2 separate regions of the Homo sapiens genome follow, and region 2 is linked to region 1. Evidence: promoter capture Hi-C in 16 types of primary human blood cells and fetal thymus (Javierre and others, 2016). All regions are on one chromosome and are shown on one strand. Each heading gives the region's core, a stretch centred on a gene start or on the middle of the fragment in contact. The rest is flanking DNA. Distances are from core to core; before and after follow the strand shown. Region 1 holds the start of PTF1A (pancreas associated transcription factor 1a). Region 2 has its middle 250 kb from the start of OTUD1.

Evidence for each region. Contacts are between HindIII fragments. The CHiCAGO score rates a contact against its expected background, and 5 or more counts as called.
Region 2: a contact is called between a fragment that was not itself captured here and the fragment with the promoter of PTF1A in region 1, in 1 of 17 cell types (M2 macrophages). The highest score is 5.2, in M2 macrophages.

What each region holds. Positions count from the first base shown.
Region 1 is chr10:23,189,574-23,195,200 of GRCh38, forward strand. PTF1A (pancreas associated transcription factor 1a) reads left to right here and starts at 2,739. Exons shown (of 2, transcript NM_178161.3): 1 at 2,739-3,741; 2 at 4,131-4,672. The coding sequence starts at 2,958. The coding sequence ends at 4,333. The HindIII fragment of the contact is 14,718 bases long and covers 188-5,627 here.
Region 2 is chr10:23,686,977-23,692,603 of GRCh38, forward strand. No RefSeq gene overlaps it. Among named protein-coding and RNA genes, the nearest start is that of OTUD1, 250 kb to the left of the region's middle. The HindIII fragment of the contact is 2,235 bases long and covers 2,322-4,556 here.

The sequences.
Region 1 (5,627 bases), core at 1,489-3,988:
ACACAGCTAGCAATTCTTTAAAAACTTCGAGGGCAGTGGAGGGAGGAGGAGGAGGAGGAAGGGTAGGAAGGGCTATGTCTGAAACAAGTGAGTACGTTTTCTGTTCCTCCTATCCCATGCTCATTCATGCACCCCTAGGAGCCACCCAGAGCCTGCAGGCTAGTTCTGCCCCCTTCATAAGACAATAAGCTTGCTAGCAGCAATGAATTTCCCATGAGCTCACTGGGTGCTCAACGTGAATTTCTCTGTAACTCTTCTGCAAACTCATCAAAAATGTCAGATGATTTTCTGTGGAAGTGGATTGCTAAAATCATATTGAATAAAAAGATACCCATATATAGCCGGGCACGGTGGCTCATTCCTGTAATCCCAGCACTTTGGGAGGCCAAGGTGGGTGGATCACTCGAGGTCAGGAGTTCCAGACCAGCCTGGCCAACGTGGTGAAACCCTGTTTCTACTAAAAATACAAAAATTAGCCAGGCGTAGTGGCGGGCACCTGTAATCCCAGCTACTCGGGAGGCCAAGGCAGGAGAATCGCTTGAACCTGAGGGGTGGAGGTTGCCATGAGCTGAGATCGTGCCACTGCACTACAGCTTGGGCGACAGAGCAAGACTTTATCCCCCAACCCCCACCCTCCCCCCAAAAAAAGAAAAAAAAAGATACCCATATATTCACACTCACTCCCCTGTCTCCCAGTCCTCCACCTACCCACATGTCTATGACACACAGTTTCTCAAGAGCCACCAGTCTAGAGAGCCACCAGAGAAAGCCTTTCAGCCTCTTGAAAAGAGACTTTGTAGGCTCAATTCTAGTCTTCTCTGCAGTGGATAGTTGTCAATATTTCCGATAAGGCTTTGAAGCTGGGTAATTTGCTACTCTTGCATGTCTTCACATTGACCCACGGGCACGGGCATGTTTCCACTTAGTTTTAGTCTACGTGAGGAAGGGGAGGGTGCACATCACTAGCTGGCTAGATCTCTGGCCTTGATACACACACACACACACACACACACACACACACACACACACCCCTTCCCTTCCTTTGAGGTCAGAAAGAGAAATCTAATTGCAGAGAATCACAGCTCAGGCTCTATCACCGGGAAACTGTCCATATTTGCCTTTAAGGATATGCAAATAGTGAACGACTCCTTCACTGTGAAGGCTGAGAAACTAACACAGGAAAAAACTACTGAAAACCAGTCAGTCCTTGGGTTAAAATTGTTTGGGGTTGTTGGCAGTTCAAGGTAAGGCAATCTCTGGCCTTCTAACCTTATATATCTTTTGGTTTAACTCTTTGTTCTCAATTCAGTTAATTACAGTGCAATGTCTAAAACCAAGAAGCGTATTTAAATCACTAATCTGAAGAGGCATGACTTGGAATTTGAGAGGCGTCTGAATACCCAACAGAAGCCTCTAGTGAGACAAGTGCCTGAAAAAGGAAGCGGCCCAGGAGGACGACTCCTTTCAGTCCTCTGTAGAGAGAATACGCACGATGGCTGCGCTTCTGAACTCTCCCGGGGTGGAAGCTGCAGCCTGGCTTTTAACCGGAATTGCCCAGACCTTGAAAGTGTTTCTTTGTTGCTCTTAAAAAGAGGAATTCACGTTGCATCGCAGTCTGTGATAAAGTCTGTCTTGGGGCAGAGCTGCATACGTTTTGTGTTTTTTTTTTTTTTCAGAAAAGAAAGGTCGAGAAAGAAAAAAACAAGTCATTCAGGGATGGTCCCTGTGGCCAGTCGGAAAGGTGAGAGACTCGGGCTTTGAAAACGATTCACATTCTGCCCTTTAACTTCAATGCCTTCCCTCCGGACTGCGCCGGAGCAGACGATTCAATGGACTCCTTTTGTATCCAGTTTATTGCTCAGAATCCCTAGGGTCTAGATTTGCTCTCAGAAGAAACGCGCCCCGCTGAGCTGCTCTGGGGGCTGCCCCTCCCGTCTCCCCATTCCTTTCTCCGGGCCGGGGAGGGCAGGGGAGGCAGCCACTGAGCCGATGTCGCTGGGGACCCGCACCAGGCACCACAGCCAGGCTCCAGAGCGGAGTCCCATAGGTGCGCTCCCAGCCCCCGTGTTGCGTCTGGAACGCAGTGGGAGTGGGCCCGGATCACCTTCCAATGACACCCGCATATACTCTGCAAACTGTGCAAAAGCCCTTGAAAAGTCCAGAGATGGGACAGAAGCCCCCAGCAGAACCCAGGCCGGAGCCCCGCGCACCTCGGATAAGGGGGTGGCGGAATGCACCCACCTGGTCCCTGAGGGCAGCACCCTTAGATTGCCCAGGCTGCCGCGGAGGAGGACGATCGCCGCGCGGGCTCCGCTCTCGCCGTCTGGGCCACCGGCGCGCACCCCTAGGAACTTCTCTGGCCGCGTGTAGACGCGGCGCGCGGCTGCCCCAGTCCCAGGGCGGAAGGAGCCGGCGCTGCTCAGCGCGCGCGGGTACGCAGCGGGCACCGCGGGACGCAGGTGCCCCTGGAGCCGCACGCGGGGCAGGTACAGAATCCAGTATGCAGAGGCAGAGGAGAGGGAAGAGAGCGGTGCGAGGAGCCCCGGGCCGCGCGACCCCGCCTTTTCCTCGCCCCAGGAGCTCCCAAAGGGAGCAAAACGCCCCCCACCCCCGCCCACCGCCGCGCCTCCGGGCCCCCTCGCCGCCGGCACACCGCGCTCTGATTGGCTGGCGCGATGGGTCCCTGGCACGCGCCTATGGATGTTGTTATAAGAATCCTCGCGTGCCGGCCCTCAGCTCCAGGAAGTCCGCCACAGCCCTCCCCAGCGCAGCGCGAGCGCGGGCCAGAGCGCAGCGGCCGCGGGCACTCCAGGGAGGCCCGGGGGCGGGCAGCCCGGCGGCCGCCTAGCTGCCCCCAGCCAGGGCCCCGGGAGGGAGGGGCTCGGACGGGCCTTAGAAACTCACCAAGAACTAACACGCGCAGCCCGGCAGTCCCGCTGCCCACTGCGGCGGCGAGCATGGACGCGGTGTTGCTGGAGCACTTCCCCGGGGGCCTAGACGCCTTTCCTTCTTCGTACTTCGACGAGGACGACTTCTTCACCGACCAGTCTTCACGGGACCCCCTGGAGGACGGCGATGAGCTGCTGGCGGACGAGCAGGCCGAGGTGGAGTTCCTTAGCCACCAGCTCCACGAGTACTGCTACCGCGACGGGGCGTGCCTGCTGCTGCAGCCCGCGCCCCCGGCCGCCCCGCTAGCGCTCGCCCCGCCGTCCTCGGGGGGCCTCGGTGAGCCAGACGACGGCGGCGGCGGCGGCTACTGCTGCGAGACGGGGGCGCCCCCAGGCGGCTTCCCCTACTCGCCCGGCTCGCCGCCCTCGTGCCTGGCCTACCCGTGCGCCGGGGCGGCAGTACTGTCTCCCGGGGCGCGGCTGCGCGGCCTGAGCGGAGCGGCGGCTGCGGCGGCGCGGCGCCGGCGGCGGGTGCGCTCCGAGGCGGAGCTGCAGCAGCTGCGGCAGGCGGCCAACGTGCGCGAGCGGCGGCGCATGCAGTCCATCAACGACGCCTTCGAGGGGCTGCGCTCGCACATCCCCACGCTGCCCTACGAGAAGCGCCTCTCCAAGGTGGACACGCTGCGCCTGGCCATCGGCTACATCAACTTCCTCAGCGAGCTCGTGCAGGCCGACCTGCCCTTGCGCGGCGGTGGCGCGGGCGGCTGCGGGGGGCCGGGCGGCGGCGGGCGCCTGGGCGGGGACAGCCCGGGCAGCCAGGCCCAGAAGGTCATCATCTGCCATCGGGGCACCCGTAAGTGCTTCCGCTTCCCAGCTCAGGGAGAAGGGGTCGGGCACTCGAAGGCTCCGGAGGGGCTGGGGGAGCTGACTGCCAAGCAGACAGTCGGACCGACGGATTGTCGGTGGGCACGGAAAAACTTGAATGCGAGCTCGCGTTTCTCGTTTTTTTTTTTTTTTTTATTTTTCTGCCACGTTGACCGCGGCTCTCAAGGGCGCGCGTCCCCGCCAGACTTGCAGCTCCTCGGATTCCTGGGAGGGGACGGTGGGGACTTGAAGTGTGGAGGAAGAGGGTGGTTCTAGTATAACCGGAGAGCACCCAGGAAAGGGTCCTAAAGGACCTGATGGGACCAATGGGAATGTGGTTGGATATTCACAGTCTGTTTTCTCTTCTCACCTGTCCAGGGTCCCCCTCCCCCAGCGACCCTGATTATGGCCTCCCTCCCCTAGCAGGACACTCTCTCTCATGGACTGATGAAAAACAACTCAAGGAACAAAATATTATCCGAACAGCCAAAGTCTGGACCCCAGAGGACCCCAGAAAACTCAACAGCAAATCTTCCTTCAACAACATAGAAAACGAACCACCATTTGAGTTTGTGTCCTGAGAAGTCCCAGACTCGGCTGAAGATCTGATTATGTCTCTGTGCATATTGTACATGTAAATATCTATAATGTAAATGTAATTTAAGAATCAAATTTTTCGAATGGCAATCAACTGTTTATTATTTATCTATTTATTATCCTGTTGAGTTGATGAAATAGATGATTTCTTTTTAAATATATAATTTATATAACTTATCCTGATTTTCTGAAAATATGCAATAGCCTATGATTTTCCTGAACTCTGTGTTGTTGGGAGAACTCTGGCCAGAAAACGTCCTGCTTATTTATTGCCAGATATGGTTTATTTCTAAGCGTTGTCAATAAATGCTATTTACACCTTTTCCTGAAGGTTTTTGAGTACATGATTTGATAGATACTCTTTAAAAAGAATTAACTTAGTAAAAATTAACCAAACCAGAGACTCAAAGTGTAGCTTTTTAGTAAGAAACTACATTTCAGACTTAGCCTAAAGGTGGGTAGGTTAGAGGATTAGACCTCAACTTTCTATGACAGCACTTCATCTAGGTCGCCTGCCCTACACAGCAACTTTTGTCTGTATTTTGGGCCACCTTCCAAACACCCTATGCAAATACATCCTGGAGTATTTATTGTTCCCATTTTGCAGATGGTAAAGTTAAGGCTCAGAGATGACATTTGACTTACCCAAGGTCACCCCTACGTTGTCTATTCCTGGTGTATAAAAGTGAGCGCGCGGTGCACTGTGGGAGCAGGGAGCTAGTGGGCTAAGCGAATGGGCCTTTCTGCTTCCACTGGCTGGGAAAGGGGCTACTCTTGAGCTGCCCTGTGACCAACCTCTTCGGCAGCAACAGCATCAGGTACCTGGAACTCAGGCTTACTCCTCACAAAGGAGATGGGACAGGCTACGGTGCCAAAGCCTAGAGACCACTCGGAGGCCACTCAACAAAATCCAGGGTCTTTTAGGTAAGGTAGGAAGAAGCCGCCCGCTACCCCTGCCACCTTCGCAACAGGCTTACTTCCAAAACTGAGTTCGTTTTGCCTTCATCAGAACTTGGCCCTCCTCGGCCAGCAACCTGGGGAGAAGGCGAGCCTGAGGCGGGGGGCGTAGGGTAGCCCCCTAGCGAAGGGGAGAAGAGCGAGGGCGCGGCCGAGGTCGCTTAGCCAGAAAGCCTGGGAGTCCAGGCTTGGGTTTGTCTCCTTTGTGGCCAAGAGCGCCTCCCGGGCTCTCGGGGCGTCCTCCCCTGCCCGCCAGAGCCGGGGCGCCGGCACTGGGCCCTGAGGCCTGGCGCGCGCGCAGATGGCGTTGGCGCGAGCGCG
Region 2 (5,627 bases), core at 2,189-4,688, 500 kb after region 1:
TGCTCTGTCTGCTGAGTTTTCTTAGGAGGAAGATTCTCTCCCCCATGAATCTACACACCATTATTGAGACTCACAGCACCGTTGCTTTGTTTGCTTAGTGACTAGGGGTTTTACGTAATGAGTCTCAGTTACACTAGGATAGTATTTTTCTCTCTCAAGGACCCTGACACAAAGTAACTGGGGTAAGAGAATCACCTGAGTGATAGACATTTATTGTTCTCAGAATGATTCCTTCCCTGCTTGTAGCCCAGCATCATTAAACTCCTCCTTTCTGGGAATGGGGTGAATGCTTGCGTAAGATCTTTCTTGGCCACTGGTGGTTGCTGCTGTTCATTGACTCCCTTGATCTCCATTCCATTCCCCTAAAAGGAGAAGTTGGAAAAGCTCAAACTCCATTTCCCAAGGCTCCTTTATCTAAGGTTCTAGATTCCAGGCAAGACTCACCAGCCAGACACACGAATTTGATGGCAGAAGTGAGGCAAGACCCCGGTGGCTCACGCCTGTAATCCCAGCACTTTGGGAGGCCGAGGCGGGTGGATCATGAGGTCAGCATATCGAGACCATCCTGGCTAACACAGTGAAACCCCGTCTCTACTAAAAATACAAAAAATTAGCTGGGCGTGGTGGCCGGTGCCTGTAGTCCCAGCTACTCAGGAGGCTGAGGCAGGAGAATGGGGCGAATCCGGGAGGTGGAACTTGCAGTGAGCCGAGATCATGCCGCTGCACTCCAGCCTGGGCAACAGAGCGAGACTCCCTCCATCTCAGAAAAAAAAAAAAAAGAAGTGAGGCAAGACCCATCTTCCTGCCAGCTTTGGCTGATTGTGCTGGCAAGGAAGACTGCATGAATTACAGTTGCTCTGCACTGGTAATCTCCTGCCTTCTGGAGGTCCAGGAGCACCTGCAGCAGCTAAGCAAATGTGTAGCATGATCAGAGGTGTAGCACGATCAGAGCTCCAGAGGCAGCCTTGAAAGCTGTGGCTGGCCTAGGAGTTCAGCTCTGTGTTTTTGGCATGTCGTTTCTGGAGACTCAGGTCAGAACATTTTCCTCTAGATCCTGCAATGATTTTGTGAGCACCCAATTCCTGACAGTATATTACTGCTTTCATAAAATACCTAGAGTCCTTTTTGTTTGTTGTGCGGATTTTGACAGATACGTTGCTCTTATCAATAGACCTCTGGGATGCAAGTTTAAACTCAAGCTAGAAAGATACCCTGTCTCACCTCAACCCACCCATACCACATGTCTAACTATTTCTCCTTTGAAATACATTTTTTTCCTGCCCAGCCATGAACAGCACATGTCTTCTGATGGTTTTTTAAGAAGAAGATAAGTCATTTAAAAGTTCAGAAATAGTTGCTGGAGAACAGTTGCAGTTACTGTACACTTCTCCTTTCATCATTTTAATGGGAACTTCCTGGAGGGCGTTTTGCCTTGCATTTCTCATTTGCTATGGTCTTTTACACACAAATCTGAGGATTAATTCAAGATGGCCCCCTTTTTTTTTTTAAGCAACTGCAAGTGAAGACATACATACCTAATGATTATGTTGGTGGATTGGATAATGTTTCAAATGATAACTTCCTCCAAGGTAAACTCCATGTGCTGTAAAAATCGATGGATTTTGTTCTGCCAGAGAGAAGCGGGAGAGTTAGGATTGCCGACTGCAGACTCAGCGCCTCTGCCAACATTTTGGCTCTGTGGCAGTTCTTTCTGAGAACTCTGCCTTAGGTATTTCTGAAGCAGTGTCAGAGGCATTTTTACTATATGGTGCTATATTCAATTAATTCAGAAGGATAAATATACAGCTTAAGACAATGGAATTTTTTTGACTGCCTAAGTCTCTGGCCAAGGTTTCTATTCTGGCACATTAAAATAACATGACCGCATCAGAAGCAAAACCCTAGGCAAAAAGCAGGGAAGCCAGGGAGCTCCCTCTTTTTAGGTAGTGGAATGGTGTGAGATTTTCAATTTTATGTACTGCCGTTCTTTCCACACTATTTATTTTCAGACGGCATGGGTATTTTGGATGTGTAACCTATCTGCTCAATGATTTCAGCTGCAGTACTAACTTCATTACTTCAACCTGGCACCTTTGTTGCAGCAAGAGACAAGTAGCGCTGCTTAGCACAAACCAAGAGTTTTTTTTTTTTTCCTTCTGTATTTTCAGGAATGCCTTTGCTCTCTTCTCTGAGTTTGAAAGTGAGAGGCAGTTCACTGTTTTTCCAACAAAGTCAAGGCTACTCTTCTGATTGCTGTTTAATCAGACAATGGAAACTCAGACAGCTTACAATGGTGGCCATTGGTAGTTACCACTGGTTAAAGCTTACATAATTGCCCCTAGGCCCTATGTTTCATGTGATAAATCTGTGATCATCCATAAAGTGGTTGGTTATCTAAATGTTGCAGTCTATAATTTGCAAGCTATCCTTTATGTGGGGGCAAATTATACATTGCCATCTTCTTGTTCAAGTTACTTCTCCTGGACAAAGATATCTTAACCATACTAAATGCTGGCTGGGTTTTTGGATGAAAAAGGCTGAAAAGATTACTTGGAACAGTTTGCAACATGAATACAACTTAAGTATCATCCTACCATTTCTGTATCTCAGAGGTAGGTGGGGATAAACTGCAGGTGCATCTCTTTGCCAGAATATATAGTAACATATTTTGGGAAGATTGTATAATGTAGTGCCCATTTTTACCATAGGTTTCATGAGATAATTATAAAGCACTAAAGCAAATCAGCATACTAGACTGGTTGAATATGCTAACATTCTAATTTTGTATAGAGGGTGATTACTGTTATTATTTATAGAGTGCAGTAAGTATATATAATGCTTTATAAACACGTAGGCAGACAAGGTGCCCAGAGGTGCCTAAATTCTAATTGCTTGAATTAGACATTTTAAATGAAAAAAAGCTACTCTGCAAAAGTGGAAAGAGACTAGGCATGAAATTGTGTTAAATAAGTGTTTTTGAAGAACTGAAGGATAAAAGCAACTGTTCTTTTAGATTTAGGTTGAAGTTGCTCCATAGAAGTCAAGAAGAACCAAAGTACTGTAACTAAAACCATCTAAAAACACTTCTTGAAACATTAAGAGAAATTCCAACTGGTTCCCATAAATTCAGTTCTCCCCTACTTGCCCAGGTCTAGGTCTGCATTCCAAGTTCCCAGAGCACAACTCACAGGGAGTTCACAAAAAAGGGGGGAAAAGATGACTGTGGGCTCTTTGAGTGGAGAGACCAAGTCTGATAGGTACAGACTTTCTAAATCCATTCTCTTGGCTAGGACTTTTCTTGACCCAGTAATGGGGAAAATGAAAACTTTGCAACTAGCGGCAGTGCTTTCACAGATAAGCAAATCTACATATAGAGGTACCCTTTATAAAAACACGTAACGATCTACCCTTTAAGGAAGCCCTTCTTAAAACTTGAACTGGAAACAACAATGAATTGTCCTTTTACTATTGATCATTAGGTTTGATAATGTCACAAAGATGTTCTTTGATGTCAGTGCAGTCCACTTAGGAAGAGTGTTCCATATATCACAAAAGATTCAGGGAATGGTCTATTGTAAGTTCCATACGAAAATCTATGATGAAGTACAGTTACCACATATAAACATATGTGTAAGTAAAATGTCCTTATTTCTAAATATAATAGCCGAGTCCAACTTTCATCACAAAATTATTGCTAATCTGTCATTATCCACAAAATAGTTGGTTATCTAAATGCTTCTTCATTAACATTTTAGTATGAAATTTAACTTGGCACTACCTTGGGAGTACTATTTATAAATGTATAATGTCAACTACTTGTTTTGGTTATGATATTTTTGAAATTTGAATTTATTGAGTTTATCAGTTTAGGCCTTCTTATCAGTTTAGGACTCCTTAAAAAGGAATTGGCCACTTCGATTTTTGTCTTCAGGGTTAACTCTATCTGATTAGAGGGCACTACACAAGCCGTTCAAATACAAAACTATTAATATATCATGAAGCATAAAATATTAAGAGCCAGCTCAAGTCCTGAGAGAAGTTACAGGCAAATGCCAGTGTTTTTTGCCAAATTTGCTATGCTCTGAAACAAGTGTTTAAAATGTTTTGATCATGTTTTCTTTATGATGAGCTATTTTAGCCCTCTTCTAAATGTCACTCTAGAAACATACCTACATAATTGAATAGATTTATTAAAATCATTTTGGCAATATTTTATAAGTGGTGTATATATATGTGTGTATCTCTGTCTATATACATATATATGCATATATGTATAGCTACATATACAAATACGTATATATAGGTATGCTATAAATATGTACAAGATTGGTGCTAACTGGTTTTCAGGGGCCTATAGGAAGGTAAGTCCTATGAGAAATAATTAATTTTTATTCTTATTCTTGTCTTTTTAAAATTTGCTTTTGTGTTACAGAAAATGAGAAGCTGCCTCCAGGATAGGGGGAGCTTGTTTTGCTGTGGAGATAGCTTCTAGAAGGACAGAATTATGATTCTCCATAGTTTTGCCAACATGTATTTGCTAGAGGGTTTGGCTTAGAAGCTTTAATGGCTATGGAGTATGTGATGAAAAGCCACTGCAGTATTAAAGTAGTTACCTTCCCACTCCAAGACCCTACTCTTTGACACCCAACAGAGCTATTCCTTCCTTGTAAACATGATGTTCTGGCTCCATAGCTATGGATTGATGTACGTGTGTGTGTGTGTGTGTGTGTGTGTGTGTGTGTGTGTGTGTGTGTGTGTGTGGCTAATTTTCTACCTGGTCCCTTTATTGTGCTTGACAATTGAACCACCTGGCCATAAGCGGCTTGTGTTTGAGAGCATAGTCATAAACATTGGCCTGTGGCCTGTTGGGCTATAATTGCAGTTGCTGGACTCTGACTCTCCTCACACTGATTAGGGCACAGTCCAGGGCACGTTGAGCTAACAGTGTTTCTGAACTCACCACCAACACATATACCCAACTTAAATGATGTGCTGCTTCCTAAGCAATGGGAAATATTTGTAATGTACTTTGAACAGTGCTTCTGAGGTCCAAACCCCCAAAATTTAAAACATGTACATGGTAATAGACCAATGCGAAAGAAATCTCACAGGTTAAGGGCAGCAAGTGATGTTTCTACGGACAGTTCAAATCCTCACTCAGATTGAGTCACTGTTTAGCCATTGGTAGTTACTGTTTTCAGAGTTCATTTTTTCCTCTCCTTTTCTTTCCCCTCTTTTTTCTCTTCTCTTCCCCTTTCCATCTTTTCAGTTTCATACATACATACATATGCATGTGTGCATGTGTATATACGTGCACATGTGTATATATGTGTAAATATGTGTATGTATATACACATTTGTTTCACATATATGCTATAGGGTTCAGCTTAAAACAGATTTTAAAATGTTATGTTATACTCTTTAAAAAATAATTCAGTCAACATATATTTATTAAGTGCCTGCTGTTTATACCAGGCACTGCACTGGGTCCTAAGAAAAGAAAAACAGAATTCCTGCCCTGGAGGAGCTTGTAAGTTGAGAAGGAAGGCAGACATACAAACAACCAATCACATCAGAAAGTAAAACAGTTGTTGTAGAGTTGTGAACAGAAGGCAGTGGGAAATAAG